7 separate regions of the Homo sapiens genome follow, and regions 1, 2, 4, 5, 6 and 7 are each linked to region 3. The links are contacts of gene promoters, found by promoter capture Hi-C in blood cells and fetal thymus (Javierre and others, 2016). All regions are on one chromosome and are shown on one strand. Each heading gives the region's core, a stretch centred on a gene start or on the middle of the fragment in contact. The rest is flanking DNA. Distances are from core to core; before and after follow the strand shown.

The links. The method cuts DNA at HindIII sites, captures the fragments that hold promoters and counts their contacts. A CHiCAGO score of 5 or more calls a contact.
Region 1: a contact is called between a fragment that was not itself captured here and the fragment with the promoter of CA14 in region 3, in 1 of 17 cell types (M1 macrophages). The highest score is 7.0, in M1 macrophages.
Region 2: a fragment that was not itself captured here is called in contact with the fragment with the promoter of CA14 in region 3 in 2 of 17 cell types (M2 macrophages and M1 macrophages); the score reaches 5.6 in M2 macrophages.
Region 4: a fragment that was not itself captured here is called in contact with the fragment with the promoter of CA14 in region 3 in 5 of 17 cell types (M1 macrophages, M2 macrophages, M0 macrophages and 2 more); the score reaches 9.6 in M1 macrophages.
Region 5: a fragment that was not itself captured here is called in contact with the fragment with the promoter of CA14 in region 3 in 4 of 17 cell types (M1 macrophages, endothelial precursors, M2 macrophages and 1 more); the score reaches 10.5 in M1 macrophages.
Region 6: a contact is called between a fragment that was not itself captured here and the fragment with the promoter of CA14 in region 3, in 7 of 17 cell types (M1 macrophages, endothelial precursors, M2 macrophages and 4 more). The highest score is 11.6, in M1 macrophages.
Region 7: a contact is called between a fragment that was not itself captured here and the fragment with the promoter of CA14 in region 3, in 5 of 17 cell types (M2 macrophages, M1 macrophages, megakaryocytes and 2 more). The highest score is 9.9, in M2 macrophages.

Annotation. Positions count from the first base shown.
Region 1 is chr1:150,388,284-150,391,636 of GRCh38, forward strand. All of the region lies in intron 1 of RPRD2 (regulation of nuclear pre-mRNA domain containing 2), which reads left to right. Among named protein-coding and RNA genes, the nearest start is that of RPRD2, 26 kb to the left of the region's middle. The HindIII fragment of the contact is 490 bases long and covers 1,077-1,566 here.
Region 2 is chr1:150,414,513-150,417,947 of GRCh38, forward strand. RPRD2 (regulation of nuclear pre-mRNA domain containing 2) reads left to right here. Exons shown (of 11, transcript NM_015203.5): 2 at 3,084-3,213. Among named protein-coding and RNA genes, the nearest start is that of RPRD2, 52 kb to the left of the region's middle. The HindIII fragment of the contact is 999 bases long and covers 1,400-2,398 here.
Region 3 is chr1:150,256,230-150,259,857 of GRCh38, forward strand. CA14 (carbonic anhydrase 14) reads left to right here and starts at 1,545. Exons shown (of 11, transcript NM_012113.3): 1 at 1,545-1,954. The coding sequence starts at 1,900. RefSeq lists an enhancer at 1-429. The HindIII fragment of the contact is 8,593 bases long and covers 1-3,628 here.
Region 4 is chr1:150,441,130-150,444,391 of GRCh38, forward strand. RPRD2 (regulation of nuclear pre-mRNA domain containing 2) reads left to right here. Exons shown (of 11, transcript NM_015203.5): 4 at 752-829; 5 at 2,102-2,154; 6 at 3,122-3,248. Among named protein-coding and RNA genes, the nearest start is that of TARS2, 45 kb to the right of the region's middle. The HindIII fragment of the contact is 3,121 bases long and covers 1-3,007 here.
Region 5 is chr1:150,480,809-150,484,244 of GRCh38, forward strand. No RefSeq gene overlaps it. Among named protein-coding and RNA genes, the nearest start is that of TARS2, 4.9 kb to the right of the region's middle. The HindIII fragment of the contact is 5,385 bases long and covers 1-3,436 here.
Region 6 is chr1:150,497,730-150,501,214 of GRCh38, forward strand. TARS2 (threonyl-tRNA synthetase 2, mitochondrial) reads left to right here. Exons shown (of 18, transcript NM_025150.5): 10 at 1-18; 11 at 773-935; 12 at 1,168-1,305; 13 at 1,487-1,564. Among named protein-coding and RNA genes, the nearest start is that of MIR6878, 7.1 kb to the left of the region's middle. The HindIII fragment of the contact is 608 bases long and covers 960-1,567 here.
Region 7 is chr1:150,459,432-150,463,114 of GRCh38, forward strand. It overlaps RPRD2 (regulation of nuclear pre-mRNA domain containing 2), which reads left to right. Exons shown (of 11, transcript NM_015203.5): 9 at 629-886. Among named protein-coding and RNA genes, the nearest start is that of TARS2, 26 kb to the right of the region's middle. The HindIII fragment of the contact is 5,293 bases long and covers 1-3,683 here.

The DNA.
Region 1 (3,353 bases), core at 72-2,571, 130 kb after region 3:
ATAGTACAGAGAGTGCTTGTATGTGTGTGTATATATGTATGTGTATATACATGTGTATATACACACACATATACATATATACATGTATACACATATACACGTATACACATGTATATACGTGTATATACACATGTATATATATACATATATACATGTATACACACATATATATGTATATGCATATATACACATACACTATATATATATACCCGCGCACACACACACACACACACACACACATATATACACCCTGCATCCTGTTGCCCTTGTTGTTAACATCTTACATTAGTATGTTACGTTTATTAAAACCAATGAATCAATATTGATATGTAATTTTTTTTTTTTTTTTGAGATGGAGTCTCACTCTGTCGCCCAGGCTGGAGTGCAGTGGCGCGATCTTGCAACCTCCGCCTCCTGGGTTCAAGCGATTCTTGTGCCTCAGCCTCCTGAGTAGCTGGGACTACAGGCACACACCACCACACCCAGCTAATTTTTGTATTTTTAGTAGAGGCGGGGTTTCACCATATTGGCCAGGCTGGTCTTGAACCCCTGACCTCGTGATCTGCCTGCCTCAGCCCCTCAAAGTGCTAGGATACAGGCGTGAGCCACTGCACTTGGCCTAATATGTAATTATTAAGAGTCCATATTTTATGAATTGCCTTAGTTTTTACCTACTGTTGTTTTCTCCATAACTCCACATTTAATTATTATATCTCTTTAGGCTCCTCTAGATTTTGACAGTTTTGTTTTGTTTTGTTTTGTTTTTCCCTGCAGACAGAGTCTTGCTCTGTTGCCCAGGCTGGTGTGCAGTGGTACAATCACAGCTCACTGCAGCCTCGACCTCTCGGGTCTAAGCAATCCTCCCACCTCAGACTCCCGAGTAGCTGGGGCTATAGGTGTGCACCACAGGTATGCACCACTACACCTGGCTAATTTTTGTAATTTCTGTAGCAACAGGGTTTCACCATGTTGCCCAGGCTTGTCTCAAACTCCTGAGCTCAAGCGATCTGCCTGCCTCGGCCTCGCAAAGTGCTGGGATTACAGGTGTGAGCCACTGTGTCCACAGTTTTCTTTTAAGCTTCCCTAGATTTGGTCAGATATTTTGTAGAATGTCCCTCAATGTGGGTTTGTCTGTTTTTTTGTGGTTGTTTTTTGTTTTAATGATTAGCTGGGGTTATTGTTTCTTTGGAGGAAGACCACAGAGGTAAAGTTCCATTTTCATCACATGATATCAAGAGTGTCCATCCTATCAACATGTTTTACCGCTAATGATACTAACCTTGATCACCTGGCTGAGATAGTTTTTTTCAGATTTCTTCTTTTTTGAAGCCTCTTACACATTGTACTCTTTGGGAAGAAGTCACTGCACAGCCCACAATTTAGGGGAGTTATGCCGTCTACCTCCTTGAGGAGGCAGCATCTATGTAAATTTTTCAGAATTCTGTGTAGACATTAACAAGCACACATTTTAATGCATTACTGGGTGTACTAAAAAAGTAAGGGAGGTTTCCAAGGGTCTGTTCATTCACAGAAGTAAAGAGTCAGCTGAAACAGGAGCAGTGAGTAAGCTTGTGAGCAAACAAGACTGGCAACGTTTTCCTGAAGGCAAACGCTCACATCAGCACTAATGGGAGACTAAGCCTTGGGCCCCCAGAAACGTTGAAAAGCCCCTTGAGAAAGATGCTGAATTGAACCTGGGTCACTACTGCCCTTGACTCTCTGCCAGAGTAAATGCAAATACATTTTTAGAAAAAGCTTTCTCTGATTAGGCTTTCAGAATTCCCATAGATAAAATTCAACAAAATATAAGCTTACAATAAAAGAATTGCCAAACACAAAGAAATAAACAACTGTGGGTGAGATTTAATAGAAACAAACCCCAAAGACTTAAACTATTGAAATAATAAGATATGAAATATAAAACAACTGACCAGGCACAGTGGCTCACGCCTGTAATCCCAGCACTTTGGGAGGCCGAGGCAGGCAGATCACCTGAGGTCAGGAGTTCCAAGACCAGCCTGGCCAACATGGTGAAACTCCATCTCTACTAAAAATATTAAAAAATTAGCCAGGCGTGGTGGCACATGCCTGTAGTCTCCCTGCTGCTCGGGAGGCAGAGGCAGGAGAATCGCTTGAATCTGGGAGGCAGAAGTTGCAGTGAGCCGAGATCACGCCGTTACACTCCAGCCTGGGCGACAAGTGAGACTCCGTCTCAAAAAATAAATAAATAAATAAATAAAAAGAACCATGTATAAAATATTTAAATTAATAAAGGAATCTAAAATATATCAAGGAACAACTCTTAGACAGTTATGCAAATTTGAAAAAGAACCAAAGAGAAATGTTAGAAATAAAAGTATAACTGTTGAAATTGAAAACTTAGTGGATGATTTGAACAACAGATAAGACCATTGGCAAAGGGAGAATTCATGAACTGAAAGATCTGAAGTAATTTCCCAGAATGTAATGTTAAGAAATAAGTTAAAAGGAAGAGCATAATGAGTCTAACATGTGTGATTGAAGTCTTATAAGGAGAGAATTAAGAACAGGCAATATTTTAAAGGAATAATGGAGAAAATGGAATAATTGATGAAATATGTGAATATATATAGGGACCATATGCATATGAAGGAAGGGGGTTAAATAAAAAGAAATCTACTTGTACATACTTTATAGATAACTGAAGAATATCAAAGTCAAAGAGAAGCTCTTAAAAACAGTAGGAGAGGATGGGTATTCTATCCTCAGTATACAGTATTCTTACAGTATGAAACTATCACTGCACAGATCATGAAATGCAAATTGATAATTATAGATTATTAATTACTTACAAAGGAATGACAGATTGATAACTATGGAAGCAAGAGGACATTGGAATAAAATATTCAAAGTGCAGAGAGAAAACAGCCATCAAATTAGAATTGTCTACCTAGCAAAACTAAGTTTTAAGAACAAGGGCAAAATAAAGACATTTCCATAAAGACAAAAGCTAGAAACCAACAGATCTTCACCTAATGACCTTTATTTTATTTAATTCATTTATTTATTTTTGTAGAGATAAGGGTCTCATGTGTTGCCCAGGCTTATCTCAAACTCCTGGGCTCAAGTGATCCTCCTGCTTTGGCCTCACAAAGTGCTGGGATTATAGGTGTGAGCCACCACACTGGCCCATTAATGACCTTTAAAAGGACATATACTTCAGGGAAAGGAAAATAATCCCAGAAAAAAATCTAAGAGATAAAATGCAGTGCTAAGCAAGTAAATTGGTAACCATAAGAGTAAATCTGAATGAACATTTCCTGTATGAGATATTTAATTAGTATAGTTTAAAAAGCCAGGACAGGCCGGGATCA
Region 2 (3,435 bases), core at 649-3,148, 160 kb after region 3:
TGATCACGGCCAGACTGGCTACCTATACATGATTCTAGAGGAGGACCCGGAGAGGTAGGATGAAAACCAGGAGAGTGGTTAAGAGAGAAGCCAAAGGAGAAAGTACTGTGACAGATTATTCTGCGCGCCAAAGCTATAAAGAAATAACATTAAAAAAAAATCTCCATTGAGTTTAGTAAATTGGAATTTGTTAGTAACCTTGAAAATTGGTGTTTGAGTGAACTGTTCGCAACATAAATGAGATAACAATTTATAAAAAGCTCTTAGCATGGTAGATTGCATAAGTGCAATAAAAGAGTGGCTCCTATAATTATGGAGTTAATGGGAGTTAAAAGTGTAGACAGTGAGTATACAAAACTCTTTCAGACTCTTCACCCTAAAAGGTCTTAACTAACATTAGGCAAGGAAGGAAAGGCTAGGGGTAACCTAAGGTGGTCACAAGAAAACTTTAAGATAGGAGAGACGTGCATATACATATGTTGAGAGACAGCCTGAAGGAATACAATATAAATATATAAATATAAATAAGAGGTCGGGTGCGGTGGCTTATGCCTGTAATTCCAGCACTTTGGGAGGCCAAGGCAGGTGGATCACCTGAGGTCAGGATTTCAAGACCAGCCTGCCAGCATAACATAGTGAAACTCCATCTCTACTAAAAATACAAAAAAATTAGCTGGGCTTGGTGGCAGGTGCCTGTAATCCCAGCTACTTCGGGAGGCTAAGGCAGGAGAATAGCTTGAACCCGTGAGGCGGAGGTTGCAGTGAGCCGAGATTGTGCCATTGCACTCTAGCCTGGGCGACGAGTGAAACTGTCTCAAAAATAATAATAATAATAATTAATAAGTAAATACAAATAAGAATCAAATTAAAATACAAGAAGCGAGGATAAGCCAGGTGCAGTAGTTCATGCCTGTAATCCCAGCAATTTGGGAGGCTGAGGCGGGCAGATTGCTTGAGCCCAGGAGTACAGGACCAGCCTGGGCAACATGGCAAACCCTTGTCTCTACTAAAAATACAAAAAAAAATTAGCCAGGCATGGTGGCATGCCTGAAGTCCCAGCTACTCGAGAGGCTTGAGGTGGGAGGATCACCTGAGCCCAAGGAGGCTGCAGTGAACTGTGATCGCACCACTGCACCCCAGCCTAGGTGACAGGAGTGAGACCCTGTCTCCAAATAAACAAAAAACACAAAAAAAGAAGCAAGCATAGTTAATGGAGCATAAGGTTCTCAAGGTGTGAATAGAGTCTAGGAAACAGTACGTAGTGGAAGGATTACTCTTTAATAGGAGTGATGCTTTTTACTAGGTAAATTGATCTAGGTGAGTTTAAATATGGATACATTTTTTGTGACAAGATAATTTCCATTTAATGATTTTTGCCTTCTCTGTGAAACAGCATATAAGCTTATCTCCTGAGAGTGAGAAGAAGAGATGTGGTAAAGATTCGGGCCTGACAAGTGGTTAAAATTTGAAATAGTTCTTTGAGAGAGGATGCTGACTAAGCACATGTGGAGGGACTGTATGTAGCATTGCGGGCCCAGGTGAAGAAGGAGACTTTTAATTCGTATGATTTAATTTTTTGTATGTGATTTTAGAACCCAGCAGCAGAAATAAAGGTGCAGTAAATGCAGTTAGTTAGATTGATCCAAATTTGGGATTTCATTGAGCACATGAGATAGAAGGCTGAATTAGGGAGAAGGACAAGAGTATGAGGGTTTTAATAAAATATTGGTTTAAATAATGGACAGAGACTCTGGAATTGATGAAGAATTGAGTACTGAGAAGAGAATGTAGAGTTAGAGAAAATAAAAAGCTGAGATCTTGATGAAATTGAAGAACAAGTATAATAGGAGTGGGAGGTTGTGATCAGAGAAGGAGATTTTAAAATGTACAAAGGAGTGGTTCTTGGAGGTCACCGAATGTGAGGTCAAGGAACTGAGAGACAAGAAAACATGGTAGATCATCCATATAGACATTGAAATTACCCAGCATAATAATGAAATTTAAGGTGACTTTGCTCAGGGTTCCAGATAGTACATTGATGGGGCTTTGTCATGAACCATTGAAAAACTTAACCGACTGGGTGTGGTGGCTCACACCTGTAATCCCAGCACTTTGGGGAGGCCAAAGCAGGCAGATCACCTGAAGTCAGGAGTTTGAGATCAGCCTGGCCAACATAATAAAACCCTATCTCTACCAAAAATACAAAAAAATTAGCTGGGCGTGGTAGTGCACACCTGTAGTCCCATCTACTTGGGAGGCTGAGACAGGAGAATTGCTTGAGCCCAGGAGGCGGAGGTTGCAGTGAGCTGAGATTGCGCCACTTCACTGTAGCCTGGGCGACAGAGTGAGACTCCATCTCCAAAAAAAAAAAAAAAAAAACAAAAAGAAGAAGAAGAAAAGCTTAACCTAGATGCATACATAGGATCATATTATTTTGCAGGACATTCGTCTAGTGATGAAAGCAGCAGCAGAGCCTCCCTCCAGTAGATGGGAAGACTAAGACGTATCTGAGTAGTATCTGGATTGGTTGATGGGGAGAGGGTCTATCTGTAATAAATGTTAAGCAATTTGCTTGAGGTCACATTCTGATTTGATTACAAAGCCCATGCTCTTTCTACTAACCTTGGTATTTCTGCAACAAGTTGAGCATGTTCAACTCATTTTTTTTTTGTCTTCTCAGATGTTTGAGACTATAATTTTGTTTTATTTTAGCTTCTCCAGAGTTACTGGGTCTTTTTTTTTAGTGCCAAACATCTACAAAGTGAGGGAGAAATGTCCTTGAGGAGTACCTTGAACAGAAACTTAACGTGAAGTAGTCAAGGTTTTTAGTATGTTTGGTAAACTGATCCATTAGTTCATTTGTCAGTTTATCCATCCAGCCTCCCTTCCATCCATTAGTTCATTTGTCGGTTTATCCATCCATCCTTCCTCCCTTCCATCCATGTAATTACATTCATCTTTTTATATCCATGTAAGAAAAAAAAAATAACCAGTTACAGTTTGAGAACACTGTATTTGGAATAAGTTGAACTAAGTGCAAATTGACTCATTTGGTTTTATTTATTGTCTTTTGTCATCTCTAGCTGCATATCCCCACCGTTTGAATCTCTTTTACCTTGCCAATGATGTCATACAGAACTGTAAAAGGAAAAATGCAATCATATTCCGTGAATCATTTGCTGATGTACTTCCTGAAGCAGCTGCTCTAGTGAAGTAAGTAAATCTTTATTGCTCTATGGGATCTAAACTTAGACAACTTAGAATTTTAGTTTCTTAACCCATTAAGAACTGTAATAATTGAACATGCTTGAAGATTAAGGATAATTTGCCTAAATGGTTGATTATTACTTTCTTGTTAACACACGTTTTTCTTTCTTTCTTTTCTTTTCTTTTCTTTTTCTCTCTCTCTCTTTCTTTCTTTCTTCCTTTCCTTTC
Region 3 (3,628 bases), core at 295-2,794:
TTGTTTCTTTGTGTTAAGTACCCTGATTCCCGGGAAATCTAATTTATACTTCAAGTCTTTTACTCTTCTTAGATGGGATGGATGGGGCTTTGGGGAACCTCAAAACATAAAACTTTCCTGAAGGGGACAAATAACTCAGAGGGTGATAGGAGAAGAAAAAGGGAAATGACATCAGCAAAATGGCTTGGCTTTGCAGATCAATCACAGGGGATAGAAAGGCACAGTGAGCTCCTGTCTCTGCAGGAGCTGATGATCCAGCACATGCATTATTCTGTTCATTTGGCTTTTATCCTGCTCCCTTATTTAGCTTCTGCTCCCTTTGTTTGGCTATTTATTGCTACTCGGCAGGAGCAAGGAGGGCAGAGGGAGCTTCAGATGGGTGCATCCTCCTGGCTGGTGCCTCTGGTGAAGAGCATGGAGGAGAAAGAGGTTTCAATGTCTGGCTTGAAAGTATCTGTGGGTTTCACATTCTCTAACGAGGGATTTAGGATGTACATTCCAATCGGGATTTCCAGTCCCGTGGGGAGCAAACATCAGTTCACATTCCTGAGACGTGCAGCCTCCATGCTCCACGGACGCAGCTCCTTGGTGGCAGGTTTCATTCAGTGCCACATGTCCTGCCTCAGCCCTTTGTTGGGCTGGAAGGAAGACCCTGAGCCCCTCTTCCATCTGGATCACATGGTCTCTCCAGACCCTCCCCTCTCTTTCTCTGGAAACCACCTTTTTCTGATGGTGGTAGTGATTGTTCCTAAAGTCTCTCCTTTCCTCCTGCCCTGGCCTCTCTGCCGGAGGTCAGTGTCCTCTTCAGTGACAAAAGCCGCCCTAGATCTGGGCTCCCTGGAGAGGGAGGTGGCTGGGTCTGGCAGTTACAGCCGCTGTCTCTCCATGGTGCTGCTACACCCCTCCCCCACTGGGCATACAAATGGGCTTTATCCAGCAAACAACGCTCCCTCCCCGCACTCCCCCCACCCCAGGCCACACAGGCACGTGGACCCAGGCCTCACCGTGGGAAGGGGGTGGTGGCAGGCACAGAAGAGATTGCTCCAGATGAGTTCTCCTTGCCTCACTTCTCTTCCTTAGAACTTAGGACACAACTCAGGTTTTAGTTATTGACTTCCTCCACCCCTCCCCTGCACCCTGAGTCCCTAATTCCTTCTTGTTATATATCTCCTAATTCTGGACTCTTCCCATTCCAGGGCAGCTCAGATTATGCAGGGAATTGGGAACAGGTACCCCCACCATCTGCCGCATACCACCCAGGGAGCTGCTCCTCAGAGGAGAAATCAGGCGGGGGGATGAAAATACAGTGTCCTTTTGAGGGGGCTGAGTTGAACCCCAAAGCCCCTTCCTTGACCCTGCCTGCTCCAGGGAACACCCATCTAAACAGCATCTGTGTGACTAGCAGAGGAAGGAAGAGCTCACCCCAGCTGGGCTCCTGAGCCAGGGCCAGGGCTCCAGTGAAACTTGCCGCGCTCCAGCTCCGAGTGGGGCCATCCTGCATGCCTAATTGGCTATTTAAGGAGCTGTTCACCAGCAGCCCAGGCAGCACCCCCGTCCCCACATACACCAGTTCAGAGCCACCTTAAAAGCAGGAGGCAGTTGTAAAGTCGCTGGCCAGCTAGTGGAGTGGAGACTGCAGAGGGAGATAAAGAGAGAGGGCAAAGAGGCAGCAAGAGATTTGTCCTGGGGATCCAGAAACCCATGATACCCTACTGAACACCGAATCCCCTGGAAGCCCACAGAGACAGAGACAGCAAGAGAAGCAGAGATAAATACACTCACGCCAGGAGCTCGCTCGCTCTCTCTCTCTCTCTCTCACTCCTCCCTCCCTCTCTCTCTGCCTGTCCTAGTCCTCTAGTCCTCAAATTCCCAGTCCCCTGCACCCCTTCCTGGGACACTATGTTGTTCTCCGCCCTCCTGCTGGAGGTGATTTGGATCCTGGCTGCAGATGGGGGTAGGTACAACTAAATGTCTGTGTGTGGATTTGTGCTGATGTTCACATGTCGCCAGGTGTGCTTAATGGGGGGAGGAGAGGTGTGAAAGGAAGCCTAGAGGCTGGAATAATAGGCTCAGAGATGAGGAAAAAAGAGTGGGGTGTGGAGGAGACCACTTCCCTTCTTTACCTTTTGTCTCTCCAGCCTTGTTGTTATTGGAGGTCGGGGAGAACTAGCGGCAGGCAGGCAGAGTGTGTACACATGCAAGTGCTGGAATCTCTTTGCAGGCTACAGATTTTCTCCAGAGCTCTTTCCCCCACTGCCCTGGTCCCAGGCAGGACTCCTGGACTTCTTTATTTACAAACTCCTCCAAATAGGGAGTCAAAGAGGCCTGGAGTAAAAAGATGGATAGATGGGGGTAGGGGGAAGAATACTTCCTGCCCAACTCAGACCCTGATCTCCAATTCATCCCCTTTTGGCCAAGATTCCCTCTTCATTCTGTGGAGCGACTAACTCCCCAGTTATCCTCTGAAAGTGGCAGTAAGAGTCAACATTTGTTTGACATTTTACAGTTTACAAAGGACTTTCAGGAGCTCCCAGGAGATGAGGAGGGATTCTTGGGAGAACAGGCTGAAGCGCTCCAGGAGTGTCCCCAGGAACTCCTAGACCTCATTTTTGTGTTTCCTGTGCCTAGCACAGTGTCCAGCACATACTAGGTGTGTAACTGAGGTTTGTGGAAAGAGCAGGGTGAGGTGGGTGTCCAGAGAGCAGAAGGCAAATGCAGAGAGGATGGGGGCAGGCAGGCAGCCAAATGGAGAGTCACAAATCTCATCTGAGGAGAAAGAAAAAAAGAGGGAAAGAGGAGGAAGAGACAGAATAAGTGTGTTGAGGCTCTGACCAGAGTGGACAGGCACCTTTACAGACCAGGGAGTTTGAGTTGTTGGGGGGTCCCACAGATATGGTAAAATGAGAGGCTGCCTCCAGCTCTCCCTTGGGCTAGCAGAATAGGTCAAGGATAAGAGCAGGACATCTCACAAGTTTGAGGAATTTAAGGGAATAAGAGACAGAGAGAGGAAGGAATTTAGGATTTTTCTCCAGAGTTTCTAGTAGTATGAATATTGCAGCATAAACCATGAAGGCCTTCGTTTTCTTCTTGAGGCAGTTTGGCCGTAGGGAGGGGCTGGACCTGCAGACCCTCAGCCTTTGCGTCAGACAGGACTGCACGAGAGCCTGGCATGTGACCCAGCTGGCAGCTCTCTTCTCTACACACAATGCTTCACTTTCATCCTGTCCCTGCCAGCCTGGCTGCCTGTGCCCACCCACCACCCTCAATCTAGAGTAGACCCTGCCCTGACTCCCACCCTTCCCTAACCATCTCAGAATGTAGGGAGCAGAGCCTCCTGGTGATGAGGAGTTTCCTCTAGAGCTAATGGGACCAGAAAAGAAGAATTTACATATGAGTTTACAGCTCAGTGGCTTTATTCATGCAATTTTTTAAAGCAAAGGAATAATCTCCCCTTCTCCCCTCAGTAGCACCCCCCAACACACACACACTCTAAACTCCTTTCTCCTCCCCGCTTTCTAGTCCCTATCCTTCCAACCCTCTGCCCACACCCTCACCCCACCCACCCCAATCTTCTAAGTGTTAGATTGACTTGGCACAGGTTACAGAAAAGAAAGGGTTGGGCCAATCG
Region 4 (3,262 bases), core at 197-2,696, 180 kb after region 3:
AATCTAGCCCTATTTGTTTAAAGTTAAATATTTATGAAAAATCTAGATCTGTTTGAATTAAAATGTAAGTAGAATTGGTTTTAGGGATGGGGTCGGATTTTGTTTTTTAGTGACTACAAAAGTCAAGCATGTTAAGTGGTAATAGCCATCTGGTTATTTTCCTGCATTTGCGTTGAGTGTTTCAAATGGTTCATTGTTTGTGTTAATAAATACTGCCCTGTGCCCTTACTGTTGGAGAATTTTTGCACAGGGTGTCAGTTCTTACTAAGCTGTTTGGTAGTAAGCATATATCAGCAGTCTTTAGACTGTCTTTTGATTTAGATTTACAGTAAGTGGTGTACTGTTTTGTTAAAAGGAATTATGTATTATATGCATGTAATTAAGTTATTGAACAGAAGTTTGTGATAATCTGCTACCATGACCGTCATTTTACTAGAAATTTGCTTTAAAAATGGCATCTTCTAAGAAGCTGTTAAATTCTTCATTTTAATTTGTTAATTGGTATTTTTAAGCCTCCTCCCCTATTCTTTTCAGAATTGGTAATTTCGCTGATGATAAAAATCGTGTTTATTTGACAGCTTCTTAGATCGGGTAGGAATTTCTATTTTTTCATAAAAATGAAAGAAAAGGAAAGAAAGAAACAACACACAGTCTCGGATTGCCTTTTTTCATGCTGCAACTTTGGCACTGAAGTGGACAGACAGAACAGCTTCCCATAATGCCAGATTGCAAAAACTGAAATGTTTTCCAGGTACCACTTTCAAAACTCAGAAGCAGCTGAAAGAAAATCTGAACAAACAACCGAATAAGCAGTGGAAGAAATCACAAAGTAAGGAACAAAATCTCAACTAATATAAAATTACCTCCTCTTTTTGGAGCAGAAGAAAATGTAGACCATTTGACATCGTACCTGGCATAAACCATGGGCAAGCCTGTTTTCCAGGTCTGGGAGGCTCCCAGTGACCTATGCTAAACAAGCCATCATGGAGATACTTCTAAAAAAAAAAAAAAAAGCAAACAAAAACTACACTTTAAAACAAAGGAAATGCAGAAAAGGGTTTAATTGAGTGAAGATTCAAGAGTAGTTGGGGGATTGCAAGAAGAAAAAAATACTTGATAGTGTCCAGGATAATTTTCAGGTTCAAGGATATATGATGTTAGAGGCAGCTGGCATTAAACAACAGATCTGAAGAGGAGACTAGGCATTAAGAAGCATTTCTGTGGGAACCATGAAATCTCCAGATTTGGGGGATATACTCTACCAAATTAGACATGGACCTCAGATCCTGGCCAGAAGCTCATTCTGTAATGGGAGCTCCTGTTATATTTATCGTATTTACCCAGCATGAGATCAAGGGAATGGAATACTGCATGTGATAGGCTGCTGTGGGCAAACTGAGGAATATTGAGAGAGACTTGAAGGTGTGGAGGGAACAAAGTAAAAGACAGTGAGAATTGGGAGGTGAAACGAGATACTTGGGATGGTTTTGCTCCAGCGAGCATATGATATCCATCATGATTAAGGGAGTCCTCAGACATCTTCTTGGTCATAAGTTGCATGCTTAGGAACAACAGGAGTCGTCATTTCAGCCAAAGTTCCACCACAGTATTAATATACCTAGAAGTTTCCTTGCCTATTTTTGCTATGAATTGAGTCAGCAGAAAAAGAAATTCAAAGGATAAATTTATAGGAATAGAGTTATTTGTCACCAATTTTCTTCAGCCAGTGCTCAGGATTAATTGGATGTCCTGTTCCTGAACACTCTTAATTTGAGGTATTTAGATCCTGTTACACCCAGACTAGGAAAAAAAGGTACTTGATGTATCTCGGTGTCTCCAAATCAATAATTCTAGGACTTTATGACCTGAAGGGTCTGTTGGAGGTAAGTAGGTTAGGTCTGTCTAAATAGCGTATTTTTACATTGACCACATTTAGGAATGTTTAAATTTCCTAGTCCATTATTTATTTTAGGAATTATGACTTAAATGTGCATGTTTGCCATATGTTCAGAGTATATCTTTAACTATAGAGCTAAAATTTTTCCTGTTAGTCAACTTTTTGTGTCTGTATTCTTAATGACCTTTTGTTTAATTCCAACAGCATCTACAAATCCAAAAGCTGCTCTCAAGTCTAAGATAGTTGCTGAATTTCGAGTAAGTTACAGAATTTGTTTAATATAGCAAAGTATTATTCACCCCTTTTGTATTATAGTTTCCTGTATAGTCCAATAAGATTTATCTGTATTCAATTACACATGTCATGTTTTAAACATGCATGAACTGTTCTAAAGGAACCCAGATTGGGATTAGATTGCTTGGCGTTTTATCTGTTCCCCTAATGGTAGAAATAACCTTCTTCCAGTATATCTATTATCAGCTGAGTTGCATATTCAATTTATGCCAGCAAGAGAGTTTATTTTCCTGTGAAACTCTTTCTAAATTAGAATTTGCTTAGAATAACAGAAGGCTATGTTTATGTAATTAAAATTTAGAGAGGCTATATAAATGGACCTTTGTCTGTTTTAGTCTTAATTCTGTATCCATAAATTAGCTTTGTGTAATGAAGGAAAAGGATCTTTTAAAGTCTGTAACTAGGCTGGGCGCGGTGGCTCACGCCTGTAATCCCAGCACTTTGGGAGGCCGAGGTGGGCGGATCACGAGGTCAGGAGATCGAGACCATCCTGGCTAATACGGTGAAACCCCGTCTCTACTAAAAATTAAAAAAAAAAAAAACAAAAATTAGCTGGGCGTGGTGGCGGGCGCCTGTAGTCCCAGCTACTCAGGAGGCTGAGGCAGGAGAATGGCATGAACCCGGGAGGCGGAGCTTGCAGTGAGCCGAGATCGTGCCACTGCACTCCAACCTGGGCGACAGAGCGAGACTCCATTTCAAAAAATAAATAAATAAATGAAGTCTATAACTAAACATGGTTTTGACATGATAATTGATCATTAATATCTGTCACCATGAGAAAAAGTGAAAAGTTTTTTTCCTCCCAGGGTTTTGTTAAGCTTTAGGGTGTTTGTTTTGTTTTGTTTTGTTTTGTTTTACAAAATGAGGAGAGAGAGAATGAGAATAATTGAATGATCTTGTAAATGAAATATGACTCTGGTCTGTGTTTAGTCTCAGGCCCTAATTGAAGAGCTGTTGCTATACAAGCGCTCAGAAGATCAGATAGAACTGAAGGAAAAGCAGTTGTCAACTATGAGGGTGGATGTGTGCAGCACAGAAACTCTCAAATGCTTAAAAGGTAATGCTTACATC
Region 5 (3,436 bases), core at 808-3,307, 230 kb after region 3:
CACTGCAACCTCCACCTCCTGGTTCAAGCAATTCTGCCTCAGCCTCCCAAGTAGCTGGGATTACAGGTGCCCACCACCACGCCCAGCGAATTTTTGTATTTTTAGTAGAGACGGTGTTTCGCCATGTTGGCCAGGCTAGCCTCAAACTCCTGGCCTCAAGTGATCCACCCGCCTTGGCCTCCCAAAGTGCTGGGATTACAGGCATGAGCCACCATGCCCAGCCCTTTTATTTTATTTTTAGAGACGGGGGCCTCACTCTGTTGTACATGCTGGAGTGCAGTGTCATAATCATAGCTCACTGTAACCCAACTCCTGGGCTGAAGCAACTCTCACCTCAGCCTCCTGAGTAGCTGGGACTACAGGCATGCACCACCATGCCCAGCTAATTTTTTTTATTTTTGTAGAGATGGGATCTCACTATGTTATCCAGGCTGGTCTTGAATTCCTGGGTTCAAACGGTCCTCTGCCTTGGCTTCCCAAAGTGCTGGGATTATAGGTGTGGGGCACCATGCCCAGCCTATGATGGCATTTTAAAGCAAAGTTAAAGATTGGCCCCATCCCAGATCTTCCACTTACATTACTAGGGAATTATTTTTTAAAAAATAAACCTAACTTCCCTACCACTTGTGCCTTTAGCCACTTGGCTACTTCTCTGGGCCCCAAAGGTTTTTGTTAGCAATGACATAATCCTTTCTTTTCTTTCTTTTTTTTTTTCTTTTTTTTTTTTTTTTTTTGAGACGGAGTCTTGTTCTGTCTCCCAGGTTGGAGTGCAGTGGCATGATCTTAATTCCTTGCAACCTCCACCTCCCAGGTTCAAGCGATTCTCCCGCCTCAGCCTCCCGAATAGCTGGGACTACAAGCGTGCACCACCATGCCCAACTAATTTTTTGTGTTTTTAGTAGAGATGGGTTTCACCATGTTGGCCAGGCTGGTCTTGAACTCCTGACCTCAAGTGATCTGCTCACCTCACCCTCCCAAAGTGCTGGGATTACGGGTATGAGCCACCACACCCGGCCTCATAATCCTTTCTTTATATATTTTACCTTATTCCTTTTTTTTTAACCTCTAATATCTTTTTTTTTTCCTTTGAGACGGATTCTTGTTTGGTTGCCCAGGCTGGAGTGCAGTGACACGATCTCGGCTCACTGCAATCTCTGCCTCTGGGGTTCAAGTGATTCTCCCACCTCAGCCTCCCAAGTAGCTAGGACTACAGGCATGCGCCACCACGCCAGGCTTTTTTTTTTTTTTTTTTTTTTTTTTTTTTGAGACAGAGTCTCTCTCTGTCACCCAGGCTGGAGTGCGGTGGCGCAATCTCGGCTCACTGCAAGCTCCGCCTCCCGGGTTCACGCCATTCTCCTGCCTCAGCCTCCCAAGTAGCTGGGATTACAGGCATGTGCCACCACACCTGGCTAATTGTGTATTTTTGGTAGAGACGGGGTGTCTCCATGTTGGTCAGGCTGGTCTCGAACTCCCGACCTCAGGTGATCTGCCCGCCTCAGCCTTCCAAAGTGCTGGGATTACAGGCGTGAGCCACCGCGCCTGGCTAATTTTTGTATTTTTAGTAAAGACGGGCTTTCACTATGTTGGCCACGCTGATCTCAAACTCCTGACCTCAGATCCACCTGCCTCAGCCTCCCAAATGCTGAGATTACAGGCGTGAGCCACTGCATCCAGCCTTCTCTTTTTTTTTTTTTTTTTTTTTTGAGACGGAGTCTTGCTGTGTTGCCCAGGCTGGAGTGCAGTGGTGCGATCTCGGCTCACTGCAAGCTCCGCCTCCCGGGTTCACGCCATTCTCCTGCCTCAGCTCCCGAGTAGGTGGGACTACAGGCGCACGCTGCCACGCCCGGCTAATTTTTTGTATTTTTAGTAGAGACGGGGTTTCACCATGTTAGCCAGGGTGGTCTCGATCTCCTGACCTCGTGATCCACCCGCCTCGGCCTCCCAAAGTGCTGGGATTACAGGCATGAGCCACTGTGCCCGGCCTCTGCCTTCTCTTTTTTTTTTTTTTTTTTTTTTTTTTTTGAGACAGGGTATCATTCTGTTGCCCAGGTTGCAGTACAGTGGTGCAATCACGCCTCACTGCACTGGATCTCCTGGGCTCAAGCAATCTTCCCACCTTAGCCTCCCAAGGCACATACCACCATGCCCAGCTAATTTTTTATTTTTTGTAGAGATGGGGGTCTCACTATGTTGTCCAGGCTGTTGTCGAACTCCTGGACTCAAGCAATCCGCCTGCCTCAGCCTCCAGTGTTGGGATTACAGGCGTGAGCCACCACACCCAGCCAAATATACTTTCTACATCTTTAGTGCTTCTAAGAAGTAAGATAGATTTGGAGGTATGTGCTGATCCTGAGGACAAGTGGAAAATATTTACATGTAGTTTAAAGTTACATGTAGTTTAAAGCTATAAAAACAATACCTTCTGAACTAGGACTCTAGTCACCTTGGAATTTCTATTCCAAAAGTGGAGTTAAGCTGAGAATTTCCTAAAATTTTACTAAGGGCCTAGGACACCCTTCACTGTGGATTCCCTTTTTCCTGCACTTCTGTGGAAATCTAGCTTTATTTTGTGCACACTTTTTTCCTTAACCTTAATCTGGTAGAGAAAAGTCGGAAGACGCCTCTTTTCTTGGCTTTCTATTGGACCCACCTCTTTTACCCTATATCAAAGGCCTATTTGGCCACAAGTATCAGAATCTTATAACCTGACACATTATGACCAATCTGGTCCCTGAGAGGCAGTATGGCATAGCATAAACAACAAGGGCTTTGCATTCAGATAGACTGGGGGCTTTACTTCTTTGAGAATCATTTTCCTGTTTTAAAGGGAGTATACTTGACATAGTTGTTTTAGGAATTAGGTGAAATAGTGAAGGCATAGCACCGGGTGTTCAGTAGTAGTCTAGGGTGGAGGGGCAACAGCCCAAGTTTTAAGAATAGATGTTTCAAGCCAGGCATGGTGGCTCACGCCTGTAAACGCAGCACTTTGGGAGGCCAAGGCAGGTGGATCACCTGAGGTCAGGAGTTCAAGACCAGCCTGGCCAACATTGTGAAACCCCATCTCTACTAAAAATACAAAAAAATAGCCAGGTGTGGTGGCGGGCACCTGTAATCCCAGCTACTCGGGAGGCTGAGGCAGGAGAATCGATTGAATCTGGGAGTCGGAGGTTGCAGTGAGCCAAGATCGTGCCATTGCACTCCAGCCTGAGCAACAAGAGTGAAACTCCATCTCAAAAAACAAAAAACAGGCCGGGCACAGTGGCTCACGCCTGTAATCTCAGCACTTTGGGAGGCCAAGGTGGTCGGATCACGAGGTCAGGAGTTCGAGACCAGCCTGACATGGTGAAACCCTGTCTCTACTAAAAATACAAAAATTAGCCGAGCGTGGTGGCGCGCACCTGTAATCCCAGCTACTCAGGAGGCTGAGGCAGAAGAA
Region 6 (3,485 bases), core at 14-2,513, 240 kb after region 3:
GAACTGCCCTGCACACTGGTAAGCTGGGAGCTAGGGTTACAATCAGGTTGCTAAATATTAAATAATAGAAAGCACCTTGGGGCCGGGCACGGTGGCTCACGCCTGTAATCCCAACACTTTGGGAGGCCGAGGCGGGCGGATCACCTGAGGTCGGGAGTTTGAGACCAGCCTGACCAACATGGAGAAACCCTGTCTCTACTAAAAATACAAAAAATTAGCCGGGCACGGTGGCGGGCGCCTGTAGTCCCAGCTACTCAGGAGGCTGAGGCAGGCTAATGGCGTGAACCCAGGAGGTGGAGCTTGCAGTGAGCCGAGATCGCGCCACTGCACTCCAGCCTGGGTGACACAGCGAGACTCCATCTCAAAAAAAAAAAAAAAAAGAAAGCACCTTGGAAAGAGTATTGGGACACCGATTTGAGCCTACAGTCTTCCCCCTAGCTAACCATGTAAATTTGGGAAACTCATTTTACCTCTTTAGGTCTCAGTCTCCTTAAAGTTGCTATCTAAGGCTCCTCCTTCAGCTCAGTGACCATCACAGAACAGGGAAATGGTAAACGATGTCTGTTATTGTGTTACTGAGAAATCCACTTTTGAACCTCAGGGCTCAGACTGTGATGAGTGGGATTGACAGGACTCAGTGGGAGGATGTGCTGAGGCTGGAGAGGGTTATAGCAGATGGTGCAGAGAAAGTAGGCAAGCAGATTGGGTGGAGGAGCAGTCTTCGGGGGCTAGTCCTCCCTATGGCCCTGACCCCTCTGCACCCCAACCTCAGCCTGATGTTCGCCCACCGGCCCAGATCCTGGCGGGAACTGCCCCTGCGACTAGCTGACTTTGGGGCTCTACACCGGGCCGAAGCCTCTGGTGGTCTGGGGGGACTGACCCGACTGCGGTGCTTCCAGCAGGATGACGCTCACATCTTCTGTACAACAGATCAGGTGGCCTTTCCCTGGCTCCACCAAAGCTTTTCTAAACCACCTTTCTTTCTCCCTATGAACCTGCAAACCCCTGATCTTTATTTGCCCCCTGTATGTACTATAATTCAGCTACATTCTACCCCCAGCTTGCTTCCGCTTCCTCTCTGTTTTTGCCCTTTGTTTTCCTCAAACTGCCAGCATCCCTGATCTCTAGCGGGCTCACAGCTCACTGACCCTTATTTCCTGCCCCTAGCTGGAAGCAGAGATCCAAAGCTGTCTTGATTTCCTCCGTTCCGTCTATGCCGTTCTTGGCTTCTCCTTCCGCCTGGCACTGTCCACCCGGCCATCTGGCTTCCTGGGGGACCCTTGCCTTTGGGACCAGGCCGAACAGGTGAGTAGGAGGTAGAGAAATAGAGGCAGATAAACCACTCTCTGGTGGGAAGGAGTGGAGAATACAGTAATCAAGGTTCTCAGAGGCATCTGGTGAGTGGGTCATTTGTTGGGGACTGACCGGATGTGTTGCTTTTGAAGTCTAAGATGATGTATTCCACTCTTGTCTCATTCCTTCAAAGGTCCTTAAACAGGCCCTGAAGGAATTTGGAGAACCCTGGGACCTCAACTCTGGAGATGGTGCCTTCTATGGACCTAAGGTAAGCTTGGGACCCTGGTTAGTGTTGTATTTATTTATTTTTTGCTTTGTTTTAGTAAATATTTAATAGATACAAAGAATTTTTTTTTTTGAGACAGTCTCACTCTGTCACCCAGGCTAAAATGCAGTGGTGTGATCTCAGCTCACTGCAACCTCCAGCTCCCTGGTTCAAGCAATTCCCCTGCCTCAGCCTCCCGAGTAGCTGGGATTACAGGTGTACGCCACCACACCCGGCTAATTTTTTTGTATTTTTAATAGAGATGGGGTTTCGCCATGTTGGCCAGACTGGTCTCGAACTCCTGACCTCAGGCAATCCACCCCACTTGGCCTCCCAAAGTGCTGGGATTACAGGCGTGAGCCACCGCACCCGGCCACAAAGAAATATTTTTAAACTTACGTAGGATATAAAGAAAAACAATATACTTTCTGCCCTCTTGGCATCTGCAATCTAGTGAGGGCTGCTGAAGGTAAATAGGCCATATCAGTGCTGCGAGATCTGTGCTGTGTAGGTACCAAGAGAGCACGTTAGCTGGGGTTAGCATTACTCGGGGAGGTTACAAAAGGTGTCCTGCAGGAATCACTTTCCAATCTGAAAGGTGAGTGTTGGCCAAGTAAAGATGTGTTTCAGGAGGGAACAGTGTAGGCAGAGGCTGGGGATAAGGATGAAAACACATGGCAGACCAATCTGGGCAACACAGGGAGACCCTGTGTCTACCAAAAAAAAAAAAAAAAATTAGCCGGGTGCAGTAGCTTGTGCCTGTGGTCCCAGCTACCCAGCAGGCTGAGATGGGAGGATCACCTGGTCCCAGGAGGTAGAGGCTGCAGTGAGCCGAGATTGCGCCCCACTGCACTCCAGCCTGGGTGATAGAGTGAGACCCTGTCTCAAAAAAAAAGAAGCCAAGGGGAAAAAAGGACTGAAAAGTGTCCACTGGATTTAGTAAAAAGGCTGCTGGATTTCAAAGGACCATTTTCAGTAAAGTAGGGCCTGAGGGTGGAGTTAGAAGATGAATAAATGAGGCCTGTGTGGTGGCTCACGCCTGTAATCCCAGCACTTTGGGAGGCCGACGTGGGTGGATCACTTGAGGTCAGGAGTTCGAGACCAGCCTGGCCAACGTGGCGAAACCCCATCTCTACTAAAAATATAAAAATTGGCCGGGTGAGGTGTTAGGACACACCTGTAGTCCCAACTACTCAGTAGCCTGAGGCAGGAGAATCGCTGAACCTGGGAAGTTGCAGTGAGCCAAGATCACACCACTGCACCCTAGCCTGGGCAACAGAGCAAGACTCCGTCCCAAAAAGTAAAAATAAAACAGGCTGGGGGCGGTGGCTCACGCCTATAATCCCAGCACTTTGGGAGGCTGAGGCAGGTGGATCACCTGAGGTCAGGGGTTTGAGACCCTGTCTCTACTAAAAATACAAAAATTAGCCCAGCGTGGTGACAGGCACCTGTAAACCCAGGAGGCGGAGGTTGCAGTGAGCCGAGGTCGCACCACTGCACTCCAGCCTGGGCGACAGAGTGAGGCTCCATCTCAGAAAAATAATAATAAAATGAAAAATAAAATAAATGCTATGATGAGAGGAAGTCTATTTGGAGGGAGAAGTTGTTGTAAAGGGAAGTTCCTGGAGAGGTTTAAGGTAGGATTGAGAAGCCTTCATAGAAGGGATCACCATTGCCATTGTATCCAGGGTGGAAGGAAAGGCTGAAGGTAGATGCAAGGAAGTTTGTAGGCATGGTAACAGGAAGTTGAGGCTCTTCCCATCCCATGGTATCAATTATCTGAATTCTTCATGAGGCAGGATCATTTGCTGAAATGAGAGTGGAGAAGAGGAGAGTTGTCAGTGAGGGGGCTGAAGATATGAAGAAAAGGCTGTGTGCAGTGGCCCCCTCTTGTAATCCCAGCACTTAGGGAGGCTGAGCTGAG
Region 7 (3,683 bases), core at 92-2,591, 200 kb after region 3:
AGGACAATTTATGAAAAATATCATTTCCAAAAGACAGAACACAAATGTGTACCAAATAATAACATGCTTCTTGAATTGTACAGATTTAATACACAAATACTAAGAAAATGCAAAGGAATCATTGAAAAGTAAGATACAAGATAAATTCTGGAAATTGCTTGCTTTTTTTTTTTTTTTTGAGACGGGAGTCTCGCTTTGTTGCCCAGGCTGGAATGCAGTGGCACAATCTCGGCTCATTGCAACCTCTGCCTCCTGGGTTCAAGCGATTCTCGTGTCTCAGCCTCTGTAGTAGCTGGGATTATAGACGCCTGCCACCACACCTAGCTAATTTTTTGTATTTTTTGTGGAGGCAGGATTTCACCATGTTGACCAGGCTGGTCTCGAAATCCTGACCTCACATGAGCCATTGTCCCCAGCTGGAAATTGCTTTTAAGCAGATATTAAAGGTGGGAATTATCATAAATTATGAAGAGTATGACTTTTTCAAAAAAGCATGAAGTGAGTCGTTGTTTTCTCTAAAGTAGTGCCTTTTCCCCCAAGTCCGGAAATATTAGGACATGTTATTTCATATAGGAAGCAAAGTCTGGAAAGTAGTAGGATGTAATATCTCTTTTCTTTGTTGAAACAGTCGAGGACAGGAAGGAAAAACCTGCAGAGAAGTCAGCTGTATCCACTTCTGTACCTACAAAGCCAACAGAAAATATCTCAAAGGCCTCTTCATGTACCCCAGTGCCTGTGACCATGACAGCAACTCCACCTCTTCCAAAGCCTGTGAATACTTCTCTTTCCCCTTCCCCAGCATTGGCTTTGCCAAACCTGGCTAATGTGGATCTGGCAAAGATCAGTTCCATCCTTAGCAGTTTAACATCAGTCATGAAAAATACTGGTAAGTAAGCCCAGTAAGGAGGATAAAAAGTTAATTTCCATCTTTTTAAATTGAATCATTAATCTGTTTTTGGGGGGGTTGTTGTTGTTGTTGTTGTTGTTGTTTAGACAGAGTTTCGCTCTGTCTCCCAGGCAGGAGTGCAGTGGTGCAATCTTGGCTCACTGCAACCTCTGCCTCCCGGGTTCAAGTGTTCTGCTGCTTCAGCCTCCCAAGTAGCTGGGATTACAGGCACCTGCTACCACGCCCGGCTAATTTTTGTATTTTTAGTAGAGATGGGGTTTCACCATGTTGGCCAGGCTGGTCTTGAACTTCTGACCTCAGGTGATACACCCACCTCGGCCTCCCAAAGTGCTGGGATTATAGGCGTGAGTCACCGTGCCCAGTCTGTTGTTGATTTTTTTTAATTAATGATTTTTTTTTTTTTTTCTGAGACGGAGTTTCAGTCATGTTACCTAGGCTGGAGTGCAATGGTGCAAACTTCACTCACTGCAGCCTCCATCTCCCAGGTTCAAGCAATTCTGCCTTAGCCTCCCAAATAGCTGGGACTACAGGCATGTGCCACCATGCCCAGCTAATTTTGTATTTTTGGTAGAGACGGGGTTTCACCATGTTGGTCAGGCTGGTCTCAAACTCCTGACCTCAGGTGATCCACCCATCTTGGCCTCCCAAAGTGCTGGGATTACAGGCGTGAGCCAGCGCACCCAGCTAAATTAATTGTTAAATTAAAAAATAATCCAATAATCGGTCATTATAGAAAAATTAGAAAATAAGCAAAGAGAATGAAATAAATATCTAGGCCAGGCGTGGTGGCTCATGCCTGTAATCCCAGCACTTTGGGAGGCTGAGATGGTAGATTGCCTGAGGCCAGGAGTTCGAGACCAGCCTTGGCAATATAGTGAGACCCTATCTCTAAATAAAAAATTTTAAATGAAAAAAATTTTTTAATAAATATCTATAATCCTGTTACCCCAAAGGAAACCACTTGTGTTTACCCTTAAAAGTATATGTGTATATGAATGTTTTGGAGAATTAAATATGTATAACAATTTTTAAAAAAGTAAGTGTATTGCATATACTGTTTCAAAACTAGCTATTTAAAAGTTAATTACATATCTTGAATGTTTTTATGAATCATTAAATATTTCTCTACATCATTTTTAATAGCTGCATAGCATGTGGTAACTTATCTAATCCTTTATTATTAGGCACTTAGTATGTTTCCAGTTTTTTACTGTTATGAAGAATACTATAGGGCCAGGTGTGGTGGCTCACGCCACCACTTTGGGAGGTGGAGGCAGGTTGATCACTTGAGGCCAGGAGTTGGAGACAAACCTGGACAACATGGCGAAACCCCATCTCTACTTAAAAAAACAAAAATTATGGCCGAGCGTGGTGGCTCACACCTGTAATCCCAGCACTTTGGGAGGCCGAGGCGGGTGGATCACGAGGTCAAGAGATCGAGACCATCCTGGCCAACATGGTAAAACCCCGTCTCTACTAAAAATACAAAAAAATAGCCAGGCATGGTGGCGGGCGCCTGTAGTCCCAGCTGCTCGGGAGGCTAAGGCAGGAGAATGGCCTGAACCCAGGAGGCGGAGCTTGCAGTGAGCCAGGATCGCGCCACTGCACAGCCTGGGCGACAGAGCAATACTCCGTCTCAAAAAAAAACAAAAAACAAAAATTAGGCCAGGTTTGGTGGCTCACGCCTGTATTTCCAGCACTTTGGGAGGCCAAGGCAGGCGGATCACCTGAAGTCAGGAGTTCAAGACCAGCCTGGCCAACTTGGTGAAACCCTGTCTACTAAAAATACAAAAATTAGCTGGGCATGGTGGCATGCATCTGTAGTCCCAGCTACTTGGGAGGCTGAGGCAGGACAATCACTTGAACCTGGGAGGCGGGGGTTGCAGTGAGCCAAGATCACGCCACTGCACTTCAGCCTGGGCAACAGAGCAAGACTCCGTCTCAAAAAAAGAAAAAATTCGCCAGCTGTGGTGGCACGTACCTGTAATCCCAGCTACTCATAAGGCTGAGGCATAAGTATCATTTGAACCCAGAAGGCAGAGGTTGCAGTGATCCAGGATCAAGCCACTGCACTCCAGCCTGGTTGACAGAGCGAGACTCTTGTCTCAAAAAAAAACAAAAAACAAAAAAAAAACCTGTAAATTATAAAAATTTTATGAATAACCCTTTGCAAGGGTTAAGTATATAAAACCTTTTTAATGGAATTTTATTTTTATTTATTTATTTATTTATTTTGAGACAGTCTCACTCTGTCCCCCAGGCTGCTGGAGTGCAGTGGCGCGATCTCAGCTCACTGCAAGCTCCGCCTCCCAGGTCACGCCATTCTCCTGCCTCAGCCTCCTGAGTAGCTGGGACTACAGGTGCCTGCCACCACGCCCAGCTAATTTTTTGTATTTTTGGTAGAGACGGGCTTTTACCATGTTAGCCAGGATGGTCTCGATCTCCTGACCTCGTGATCTGCTCGCGTTGGCCTCCCAAAGTGCTGGGATTACAGGCGTGAGCCACCGCATCCGGCCATTTATTTATTTATTTTGAGACAAGGTCCCACTCCATCACCCAGGCTGGAGTGCAGGGGTGCAGTCATGGCTCACTGTAACCTCAAACTTCTGGGTTCAAGTGATCCTCCCACCTGAGCCTTTGAGTGGCTGAGATCACACGTGTGCACCACCACATCTGGCTAAGTTTTGTGGGTTTTTTGGTAGAGACAGTGTCTTACTATGTTGCCCAGGCTGATCTTGAACTCCTGGGCTCAAGTGTTCCTCCCATCTTGGCCTCC